Linked DNA regions of Homo sapiens: region 1 is linked to region 2. Evidence: promoter capture Hi-C in human tissues and cell types (Jung and others, 2019). All regions are on one chromosome and are shown on one strand. The core of a region is centred on a gene start or on the middle of the fragment in contact, and the rest is flanking DNA. Distances in the headings are between cores, read along the strand shown.

Region 1 (5,158 bases), core at 108-2,607, 450 kb after region 2:
TCTTGAACTCTTGACCTCAAATGATCCACCCGCCTCGGCCTCCCAAAGTGCTAGTATTACAGGTATGAGCCACTGTGCCCAGCCCAGCTAATTTATTTTTATTTTTTCTAGAGATAGGGTCTCACTATGTTGTTGCCTAGGCTGATCTTGAACTCCTGGGCTCAAGTGATCCTCTTGCTTTGGCCTCCCAAAGTGCTGGGATTACAGTTATGAGCCACTGTGCCTGGCTCTGGAATGAACGTTATTAAAAAAGAAGGCCAGACCTAGGGCACAAGAGGGTTTACATGTACACTTACTGCCTTTTACCAAGATTGCATCAGTAATTTACCCATAAAGAGTTTATTAGCGACTGGGCACGGTGGCTCACGCCTGTAATCCCAGCACTTTTGGGAGGCTGAGGTGGGCGGATCACGAGGTCAGGAGATCGAGACCATCCTGGCCAACATGGTGAAACCCCGTCTCCACTAAAATACAAAAAATTAGCTGGGTGTGGTGGTATGCGCCTACAGTCCCAGCTACTCAGGAGGCTGAGGCTGGGGAAATGCTTGAACCCGGGAGGCGGAGATTGCAGTGAGCCGAGATCGCACCACTGCACTCCAGCCTGGCAACAGAGTGAGACTGTGTCTCAAAAAAAAAAAAAAGAAAAAAGGATTTATTAGCACGGGCAACATAGGGAGACTCTGTCTCTAAAAAAAAAAAAAAAAATTTAGCTGGGCATGGTGGCATATGCCTGTGGTCCCAGCTACTTGGGAGACTGAGGTGGGAGGATTGCTTGAGCCTGGGAGGTTGAGGCTGCAGTGAGCTACGATCTACCACTGTACTCCAGCCTGGGGGACAGAGAGAGACCCTGTCTCAAAAAAAAAAAAAAAGTTTCTTTCCTTTGTCCATTCCAGTTGCTGGAAGTATCTTGGATTTTAATTAATTATGGTATAATGAGAATACTTACCCTAATGCTTTTGAAATAAGTAAAATAAAGGAAAAGGGCAAAAAGTCATACAGCCCACAGTCAGTGCTTTAATTATAGTTGGTCAGTTTATGGAGTTTGTTTTTTGTAAACCTTTTTATAAAATGGTCTGAATGTGGTTTGTTCTGTTTATTCGCATTAATGGATTACACTGGTAATCACCCAGATGAAAATCATAGAGTTTAGAATCAGAAGGTATCTTGGAGGTGGTCGTGCTAATTTCCCACAGTTGCTACATAATGCAGAGATCTCTTTGATAATAATATCCATGCATCTATTATAGATTCGATCTCCGTCCAAGCCCTGCACACTGCTTTGTAAGGCAGTCAATTCCATGGTAATTGCATGTGTCATAAAGTTATTCTTTTGAGTTGAAGAATTGGTTATTTCCTTGTGTTCTGTAGTAATAAAGGAGTATGAAGACAAATTATATCTTTTAGGTATATGTAGTATTTAGATGGAGATACATATCCACGTATATAGGATGTAATCCTTGGCTTTCTTTCTGCATTCTTTCCTTCTTTTGAGATATCTCCTGTCATTTATTATTTTCTTTGTTTTATATTTGGTTACTTAGAAATGTAAGACTAGGCTGGGTGTGGTGGCTCACAACTGTAATCTCAGCACTTTGGGGAGCTGAGGCAGGTCGATCACCTGAGGTCAGGAGTTCGAGACCAGCCTGGCCAACATGGTGAAACCCTGTCTTTACTAAAAATACAAAATTAGCCAAGTGTGGTGGCACATGCCTGTAGTCGCAGCTACTTGGGAGCGTGAGACAGGAGAATCACTTGAACCCAGGATGCGGAGGCTGCAGTGAGCCGACATGGCGCCATTGCACTCCAGCCTGGGCGAGACAGAGCGAGACTCCCTCTCAAAAGAAAAAAAAAATGTTGAGATAAAGAAATGAATAATGATGGACGGGCGGGTGGTGGCTCACACCTGTAATCCCAGCACTTTGGGAGGCCAAGGCGGGCGGATCACGAGGTCAGAAGATTGAGACCATCCTGGCTAACACAGTGAAACCCCCTCTCTACTAAAAATACAAAAAAATTAGCCGGGTGCCTGTAGTCCCAGCTACTTGGGAGGCTGAGGCAGGAGAATGGCATGAACCTGGGAGGCGGAGCTTGCAGAGAGCCGAGATTGCGCCACTGCACTCCAGCCTGGGCGACAGAGCGAGACTCCATCTCAAAAAAAAAAAAAAATTAATGATAATGAGTAATAGTTAACCTTGTAGGGTTGTTATGAGAATTAAATGTTCACATGTATGAAGCACATATTTAGCACAGTACATGACACAAGGTAAACATTTAATAAATGCTGACAGTACAGTGATGGTTGTGGTTTCTATCAAGCCTTTTAATGCTAGATTAATAGGGAAGATAACGGTAAACAATTAACTATAATAAAGGCCGAACAAAATAAGTGCTATAGTAGAGATAGAAGCAAAGTTCTTACTTGTCCTAATAAGGGAGCAACTAATTTTGTTACTGGTAGCGGGTCTTGACTGAAAGTTCTCCAGGTTCTAGGTGTTTTGAACAAAGAATTGGACAAAATTAACAGCAAAGCAAGCAAAGAGTGAAGCAATGAAAGCAGAGATTTATTGAGAATGAAAGTACATTCAGCAAGGTGGGAGTGGGCCTTGCAGCCCCTGGAGAGCCCCCTTACAGAATCTTCTAGGACCCACATACCCCCAGAGGTTTCCCATTGGCCACTTGGTGTTCACACCATGCAAATGAAGTGGTGGCCTGCAATCAGTCTGATTGGTTGCAGAAAGCAGCCAATCAGAGGCTGAAGTTACAAAGTTACACTCCTATGCAAGCATCTGATTGGTTATGGAAAGCACCCAGCCAGAATGGGGAGTTTGCAAAGGGTGTAGCCTTTGGTCCTTTTGTTATTTAGGCATGGAAAGTTGGGGTTTTCCTTTAGATTTAGTTCTAGGGTTGCCTTAGGTCCCTGGAGACCCTATTCTCCTGCCTCAATTTCAATTGGAAAATCAGGAAGGGCAGGAATCTTCTTTCCTAAACTTTGAAATATGCATAGGATCTCCTTAAAGAGCGGGATGGCATTGAGGTCTACCATCAGCAAATGCATGGAGCTAGGAAAGTTCATGGTCTTTTTGATGGACTTTAAGCAGTCATGTGTGACTGAGGGGTTGGGTATGTGGAAGAGCTGGTGGGAAGTAAGGATGGTATATAGAGAAGTTAGACTGTAGAGGGCTTTGAACACAATGATGGGATGTTTTTGTACATTATCCTAGATATTCCAGATGTTTTCAGGTCTTTGAACAGAGGAGCAGGATTGTAATCTTATAGCAAAATAGATGTGATTATTGTATGCAGATAATTAGTGGTTCCTGTTTTTAAAGTTTTGACTGAAAGGGCTAATGAAAAGTGTGTAGCAGGAGAAAATTGTTGCTGTAATCCAGGGTGTGAAATGGAAACCATTGGCAGATTGTGGAAAAATGAGTCTTTTAGAGTAAGCCCAGGAAACTTTTTGTAAATACATTTGAGGCTTTTCATACTTAGAGGATTAAACAAATTTATTAGACAATAACCTTCTCTCTCAAAGAATCTTAATCTCTAGATTGGGAGAAAGGATTGGGTTGGTATGTGCACGGGAAAAAGACCTGGGCTCTTTTGGCTGACTGTGCCTGTAATTGAAAGTGGACTTACCTCAGGAGAGTGAACTGGCTTTCAGCCTGCGGGAGAGCTTTAAGCACATTTTAAGTGTGAGCACTTGGTTTCTATTTTTAAGTCTCTGAAGATAATGATCTGACATAGGGAACTAGCTTTTGGGGATGAATCTGCTGTGCCCAGACTTCAGCGTTGCCAACATTCTCTTTTTGATATATGAGTTGATTTGGCTATCCCTTAAGCTTATTTTGTATTTTTGTTGATTTCTACTATTGCTTATGAAGCTTTTCCATTTCTAAACTTATGATTTCAAATCATTAAAGAGTCTGGTTGGAGAAATTGTTAGGAAGGAGGCCTGATTATGAAATTGAGACTGGTGAAATGAGAATCGAATGGAAGCTCACAGCAGTTGCTTTATTGGCTGGATGGGGTGGATGGAGTGACCAGTGAGTCACTATTTTTATTTTTTGGCTGTGGCCTTGTTTTCCTGCTTGTATAGATAATCTGGCATCTAGACTGAACTAGCATCAGGGGTGAGTGTATGTGTTAACTGGTGATTATCTGTTGGTATGAGATGGATTTTATATGTCTATCAGAATCCCTCTGTGGAGAAAACCAAATTACTACTTAGTTTATGTTCCAGGGAATACTAATGCTATTATGCGGGTATATAGCACTTACATAACGTTGGTCCTTTTCAAAAATATTTCATGTCTGTTGTCACTTCATTCTCCAACCACCTTGTAAATGAGATAGGGCAGGTATAATTCCTGTTTGACAGAGGGGATGCTGAGGCATAAATAAGAGACTGGGTTATGGTTTCTGGCTCAATAAATAAATGACTGAGACAACTTATTACATTTCATTTTTGAACTGCAACTTCCAGAAAATTTTATAGGAGGAAAAATCTGAATGCCTTCTCTTTTTTGTTGTTATTTTTCAGCGGCGTCTTCGACATCTTCGGAACATTGCTGCCCGGAACATTGTTAATAGAAATGGCCATCAGCTCCTTGATACCTACTTTACACTTCACTTGTGTAGTACTGAAAAGATATATAAAGGTAAGGGGATCTGTGGCCTTACTACCCACAGATTGTTATATTTTTATTTTTTTTGTAACACAAGTGATTCTCAGTGCCTCCTGCTTTTGTGGCTTCTCGGAAACCTAAATTGTTATGCTGTCTGAAAATATCTCATGAGCAGTTGGGATGTATACTAAAGAAAGATGGCAGTTGGATAGTTCTTTCAGATAACTGAGCCTTACATTGATACGTTTATCATTCCTTTATGAATGTTAGCTATTAATGGTCTAGCAGCTAGCATTTCAAGTAGATTGAATCCAGTATCCTGTAGTAATTTTACTTTTATAAAAATGTAATAAATTTCTTTTCTTTAATATTATGGTAAAATAGGGACCTAGTTTATATCTTCTCGTATCTGTAATTCCCTGTATATATGGGATCTTTTTCAGAAGAATGGCATGGTTTTCTCTAATTCAGTTTTATATATTGTACTGTGGATTCTTCTGTAAGTGAAAAATTCTAAGAGTAGACCAAATATT
Region 2 (4,841 bases), core at 2,047-4,546:
GCACGCAAGGCCAGGTGCTCTCCCTCAGCGCCCACATCTCTAGTGAATCCATAGGCAGGTGGATTTACCAGGCTCATGTTTTCAGCAACCTGGCCCCACTCTATAGACAGACCAAGGAGTTGGATGAAGAGGCACATGAAGAGCAGAGAGAGATAACAGATGGATGGGGGGTGGGGGGGGGAAGAAAAACAACTTATTCCTAGGTTCCTCATCTTGGTAAGGATTGTCGCCAAGCATTCACAACTGAAGTCAGAAACTAGGGCTTCTGCTGGGCACAGTGCTTCACGCCTGTAATCCCAGCACTTTGGGAGGCCGAGGTGGGTGGATCATCTGAGGTCAGGAGTTCGAGACCAGCCTGGCCAACATGGTGAGACCCTGTCTCTACTAAAAACACAAAAATTAGCCAGTGGTGGTGCATGCCTGTAATCCCAGCTACTCGGGAGGTTGAGGCAGGAGAATCGCTTGAACCCAGGAGGCAGAGGTTGCAGTGAGCCGAGATTGCGCTACTGCACTCTAGCCTGGACAACAAAGGGAAACTTTGTCTCAAAAAAAAAAAAAAAGATAGATCCACAGCTACCATCTCTTTGGTTCTTTGGTTCATCCACTTCTTTTCCTTTCTTTTCTTTTTTTTTCTTTGAGACGGGGTCTCGCTCTGTCACCCAGACTGGAGGGCAGTGGCTTTGACCATGGCTTACTGCAATTCCACCTCTCGGGTTCAAGTGACTCTCATGCCTCAGCCTCCCAAGTAGCTGGGATTACAGGCGTGCACCACCACACTAGGCTAATTTTTGTATTTTTAGTAGAGATGGGGTTTCACTATGCTGGCCAGGCTGGTCTCAAACTCACGACCTCAGGTGATCCACCTGCCTCGGCCTCCCAAAGTGCTGGGATTACAGGCATGAGCCACCGCGCCCATCCACTTTTTGTCATCTTCCCTGGTCCCTCTGCTCAGCAACCACAGAACTCTGTTAATTCCGTGATTATAGGACAGGTCACTTTACATCAGAGTTGTTTTAGAGCTGGAGTTAAACACTCCAATGGCTTCTAGGACCAGAAAATAACTGAGTGGTGCTGCCAGGGAGTGTGGCACCTTGGAAAGACTCTTTTTGTGTAACAGGAAAGGAGAGCACTGCCCATGAAGAAATGTGGGTTCACTATTTTGCTAGATATTTCTATATCCTTAAGAAAAACCTAAAATAGTTTTAGAGAGAAATACCCTGACTTTTAAATGAAGAAAACTATTCAAACTTAAAATAAAACTGTTGGCTGGGTGCGGTGGCTCACGCCTGTAATCCCAGCACTTTTGGAGGCCGAGGTGGGCGGATCACAAGGTTAGGAGTTCAAGACAAGCCTGGCCAACATAGTGAAACCCTATCTCTACTAAAAATATGAAAATTAGCTGGACATGGCGGTGCTTGCCTGTAGTCCCAGCTACTCAGGAGGCTGAGGCAGGAGAATCGCTTGAACCCGGGAGGTGGAGGTTACGGTGAGCGGCGATCGCACCACTGCACTCCAGCTTAGGCAACAGAGTAAGACTTCGTCTCAAAAATAAATAAATAAATAAAATAAAACTGTTATTGAAGTGTTTAGGGGTAAAGTTTACCAATGTCTGCAACTTACTTTGAAATGCCTCAAAAGATGTATTGGTGGGTGGCTACAGGGATGAGTAGATCCACGATAAAGCAACAGCAAAATATTAATTGTAGCATCATTCTCAATTCCCCCTCAGCTTGGTGATGCATACACGTACAGTTTTTTCAACTGTTCTGTAAGCTTCATTAAAAAATGAAGGGACATTTTTAATTTTTTATTTTTTTTAGACTGAGTCTCACTCTGTTGCCCGGGCTGAGTGCAGTGGCACAATCACGGCTCACTGCAGCCTAGACCTCCTGTACTCAAGCAATCCTCTCACATCTCCCTCCAGAGTAGCTGGGACTACAGGCACACACCACCACACCTGGATAATTTTCTTTTTTCACTTTTCATAGAGATGAGGGTGTCTCATTCTGTTGCCCAGACTGGTCTCAAACTTCTGGCCTCAAGCTATCCACTTGCCTTGGCCTCCCAAAGTGCTAAGATTACAGGCCTGAGCCACTGCACCTGGCTAGAATTTTTTTTAATTGAAAAAGAAGGCCAGGCACGGTGGCTCATGCCTGTAATCCCAGCACTCTGGGAGGCTAAGGCAGGTGGATCACTTGAGGTCAGGAGTTCAAGACCAGCCTGGCCAACATAGTGAAACTTCATCTCTACTAAAAATACAAAAATTAGCTGGGTGTGGTGGTGTGCACCTGTAATCCCAGCTACTCAGGAGGCCAAGGCAGAAGAATCACTTGAACCTGGGAAGTGGAGGTTGCAGGGAGCTGAGATCGTACTACTGCACTCCAGCTTGGGCAACCGGAGAGAAAAGAAAGAAAGGAGAGAAAGAGAGAGAGAAAGAGAGAGGAAGGAAGGAAGGAAGGAAGGAAGGGCGGGCCCATGGGACCTTCTGGGACTTCTGTTACAAATTGTAATGGACTTGATGAAAGTAAGGTGGGGTAAATGAGAACAACATAAAGGACACAGAACGCAGTCCCTAGGACACTTAGTAAGTATCAGGTTTTATTATTATCATTTGGAATGGAGGAAATGGGTACAGACTGGGGGACATGAGTTGTTTTGTTTGTTTGTTTGTTTGTTTGTTTGAGACAGAGTCTCACTCTGTGGTCCAGGCTAGAGTGCAGTGGTAGGATCTTGGCCCACTGCAACCTCCATCTCCCAGGTCCAAGCAATCCTCCCACCTCAGCCTCCCGAGTAGCTGGGATTACAGGTGCCCGACACCACTCCCAGCTAATTTTTCTATTTTTAGTAGAGACGGGGTTTCACCATGTTCGCCAGGCTAATCTCGAACTCCTGACCTCAAGTAATCCGCCCGCCTTGGCCTCCCAAAGAGGAGTCTTAAATGAGTTTCACTGAGGGATTTCAGCAGATTTTCATTACAGTGTCCACCCTGAAAGTGTAGGGGCCAGAGTTCCACGCTGGTTAATCTCTCTTGCTGTGTGAACTTATACCTGTAATTTCCACCTCTGCACCTCACATTGCTTGTTTTGAAACTATGAGAATTGAACTCTAAGGTCCCCTGAAGTTTAGAAGTCCTGCTGGATGAAGCCCCTTTCCTGTTCCTGCCTACATTCTTCTTTCCCTGGACGCCTTACTTACGTAAAAACTACATTTCCCATGAGCACCCACAGGCGTGCACGCAGCGCAGCCCTCCGTCGTCGCTCGCGCCCTTTATACTCACTTCCGCCCGCGAGCCACTTCCTTTCCTTTCAGCGGAGCGCGGCGGCAAGATGGCAGTGCAAATATCCAAGAAGAGGAAGGTGAGCCTCTGGGGACTGGGTTCGGAGAACGACGGCGCCGCGCGGGTCGAGGGCTTCTCGGGGTGCCACCGCGAGGCCTGCAGCTCCGTGGCCTGCCCTGGAAGCGGCCTAGGCTTCCTGGCGTTCCTGCGGGCCGCGGATGGCGGTGGATTGAGTGAGAGGCCCCAGCCAGGAGGGCGCTGTGTGGCCGGGTTCCAAGTGAAGCGCAGAGAGATGGGCACCAGGCGCCCCTTCTGTCCCGGAGAAGGCGTTTGTGAGCATTTGTCGGTCAACGGAATTAGTAAACGTGGTATTTTGAGGGCGTGTGTCATTTCCCTCATGTCTTATCCCGTGGTTTTGGGAAGAGAAGGCAGCAGTGTATTCTTGCCTTAACTGGTCGTTTCTGGGTACAGTCCGCTGGCCCCAGGACCTCAACTTGAAGGGTTGCTGACGGTTGCTTGCTCCGTCTGGGGACCCCGGGAGGAAGCTGCCTCGGATTTAACGCCTTGTCATTACATGGGATAGAACTGTGTAAAAATCATTAGCTTTAAAAATAGACAGTTTGTCATTTCGTATATACACTTCGATGTCAAAATTAAATCCACAACTTCTCGAGAGTTAGGATTTGCCAGCTCTGTTGGTACCGTAAAGCCAAATAACATGGCTGGGATTCTTTAGACGGTGCAGGTTGTGTCTACAAGTGAGAGAGCTTATATGTTAAGTCTACTATCTATTCCTTAACAGTGACAAGTACAGTGTCTTTGCTGTGCTGAATGAAGTGTAAATAGGCCATTAGAGCAGTTTCTTGTTTTGCATGTGGAACTGTTTTAAACCCTTCGATGAAGAGATGATGACGAGTCTGACTTGGGGATGTTCTCTTTGCCCAGGTGGCCTACTCTGTGCTGCGTTCTGTGGCACAGTTTAAAGAGCCCTGGTTGAAGTAATTTCCTAAAGATGACTTAGAGGCATTTGTCTGAGAAGGGTTGCTGCACTCCTGTTGGAACAAGGGTTTGGAACCATTGGTTGGAGGTATTTAGTTTTGGTGAGGGATGCATTGACTAATAAGACTAGACTGGCTCAGGCGAAAGTGAGCCTACACCGATCTCCTAATTTTGAACTTTGCTTTGTTTGGATTAGTTTGTCGCTGATGGCATCTTCAAAGCTGAACTGAATGAGTTTCTTACTCGGGAGCTGGCTGAAGATGGCTACTCTGGAGTTGAGGTGCGAGTTACACCAACCAGGACAGAAATCATTATCTTAGCCACCAGGTAAAACTCATTTGACTGGCCATCACCTATAATTGTTATAAATGCTAAGTTGGTTTATTTATTTATTTATTTTTTTGAGACGGAGTCTTGCTCTGTCCCCAAAGCTGGAGTGCAGTGGCGCGATCTCGGCTCACTGCAAGCTCCGCCTCCCGGGTTCACGCCATTCTCCTGCGTCAGCCTCCCGAGTAGCTGGGACTATAGGCGCCCGCCACCATACCTTGCTAATTTTTTGTGTTTT

Evidence for each region. The method cuts DNA at HindIII sites, captures the fragments that hold promoters and counts their contacts. A contact is called where the count stands out against the background at its distance.
Region 1: a contact is called between a fragment that was not itself captured here and the fragment with the promoter of RPS3 in region 2, in 1 of the 25 tissues and cell types used here (spleen).

The regions. Positions count from the first base shown.
Region 1 is chr11:75,847,343-75,852,500 of GRCh38, forward strand. It overlaps UVRAG (UV radiation resistance associated), which reads left to right. Exons shown (of 15, transcript NM_003369.4): 2 at 4,541-4,658. Among named protein-coding and RNA genes, the nearest start is that of UVRAG, 35 kb to the left of the region's middle. The HindIII fragment of the contact is 5,005 bases long and covers 1-3,860 here.
Region 2 is chr11:75,396,222-75,401,062 of GRCh38, forward strand. It overlaps RPS3 (ribosomal protein S3), which reads left to right and starts at 3,297. Exons shown (of 7, transcript NM_001005.5): 1 at 3,297-3,356; 2 at 4,473-4,603. The coding sequence starts at 3,327. SNORD15A (small nucleolar RNA, C/D box 15A) reads left to right here and starts at 4,170; the gene lies at 4,170-4,317. RefSeq lists enhancers at 3,274-3,633, 3,860-4,723. The HindIII fragment of the contact is 8,937 bases long and covers 1-4,841 here.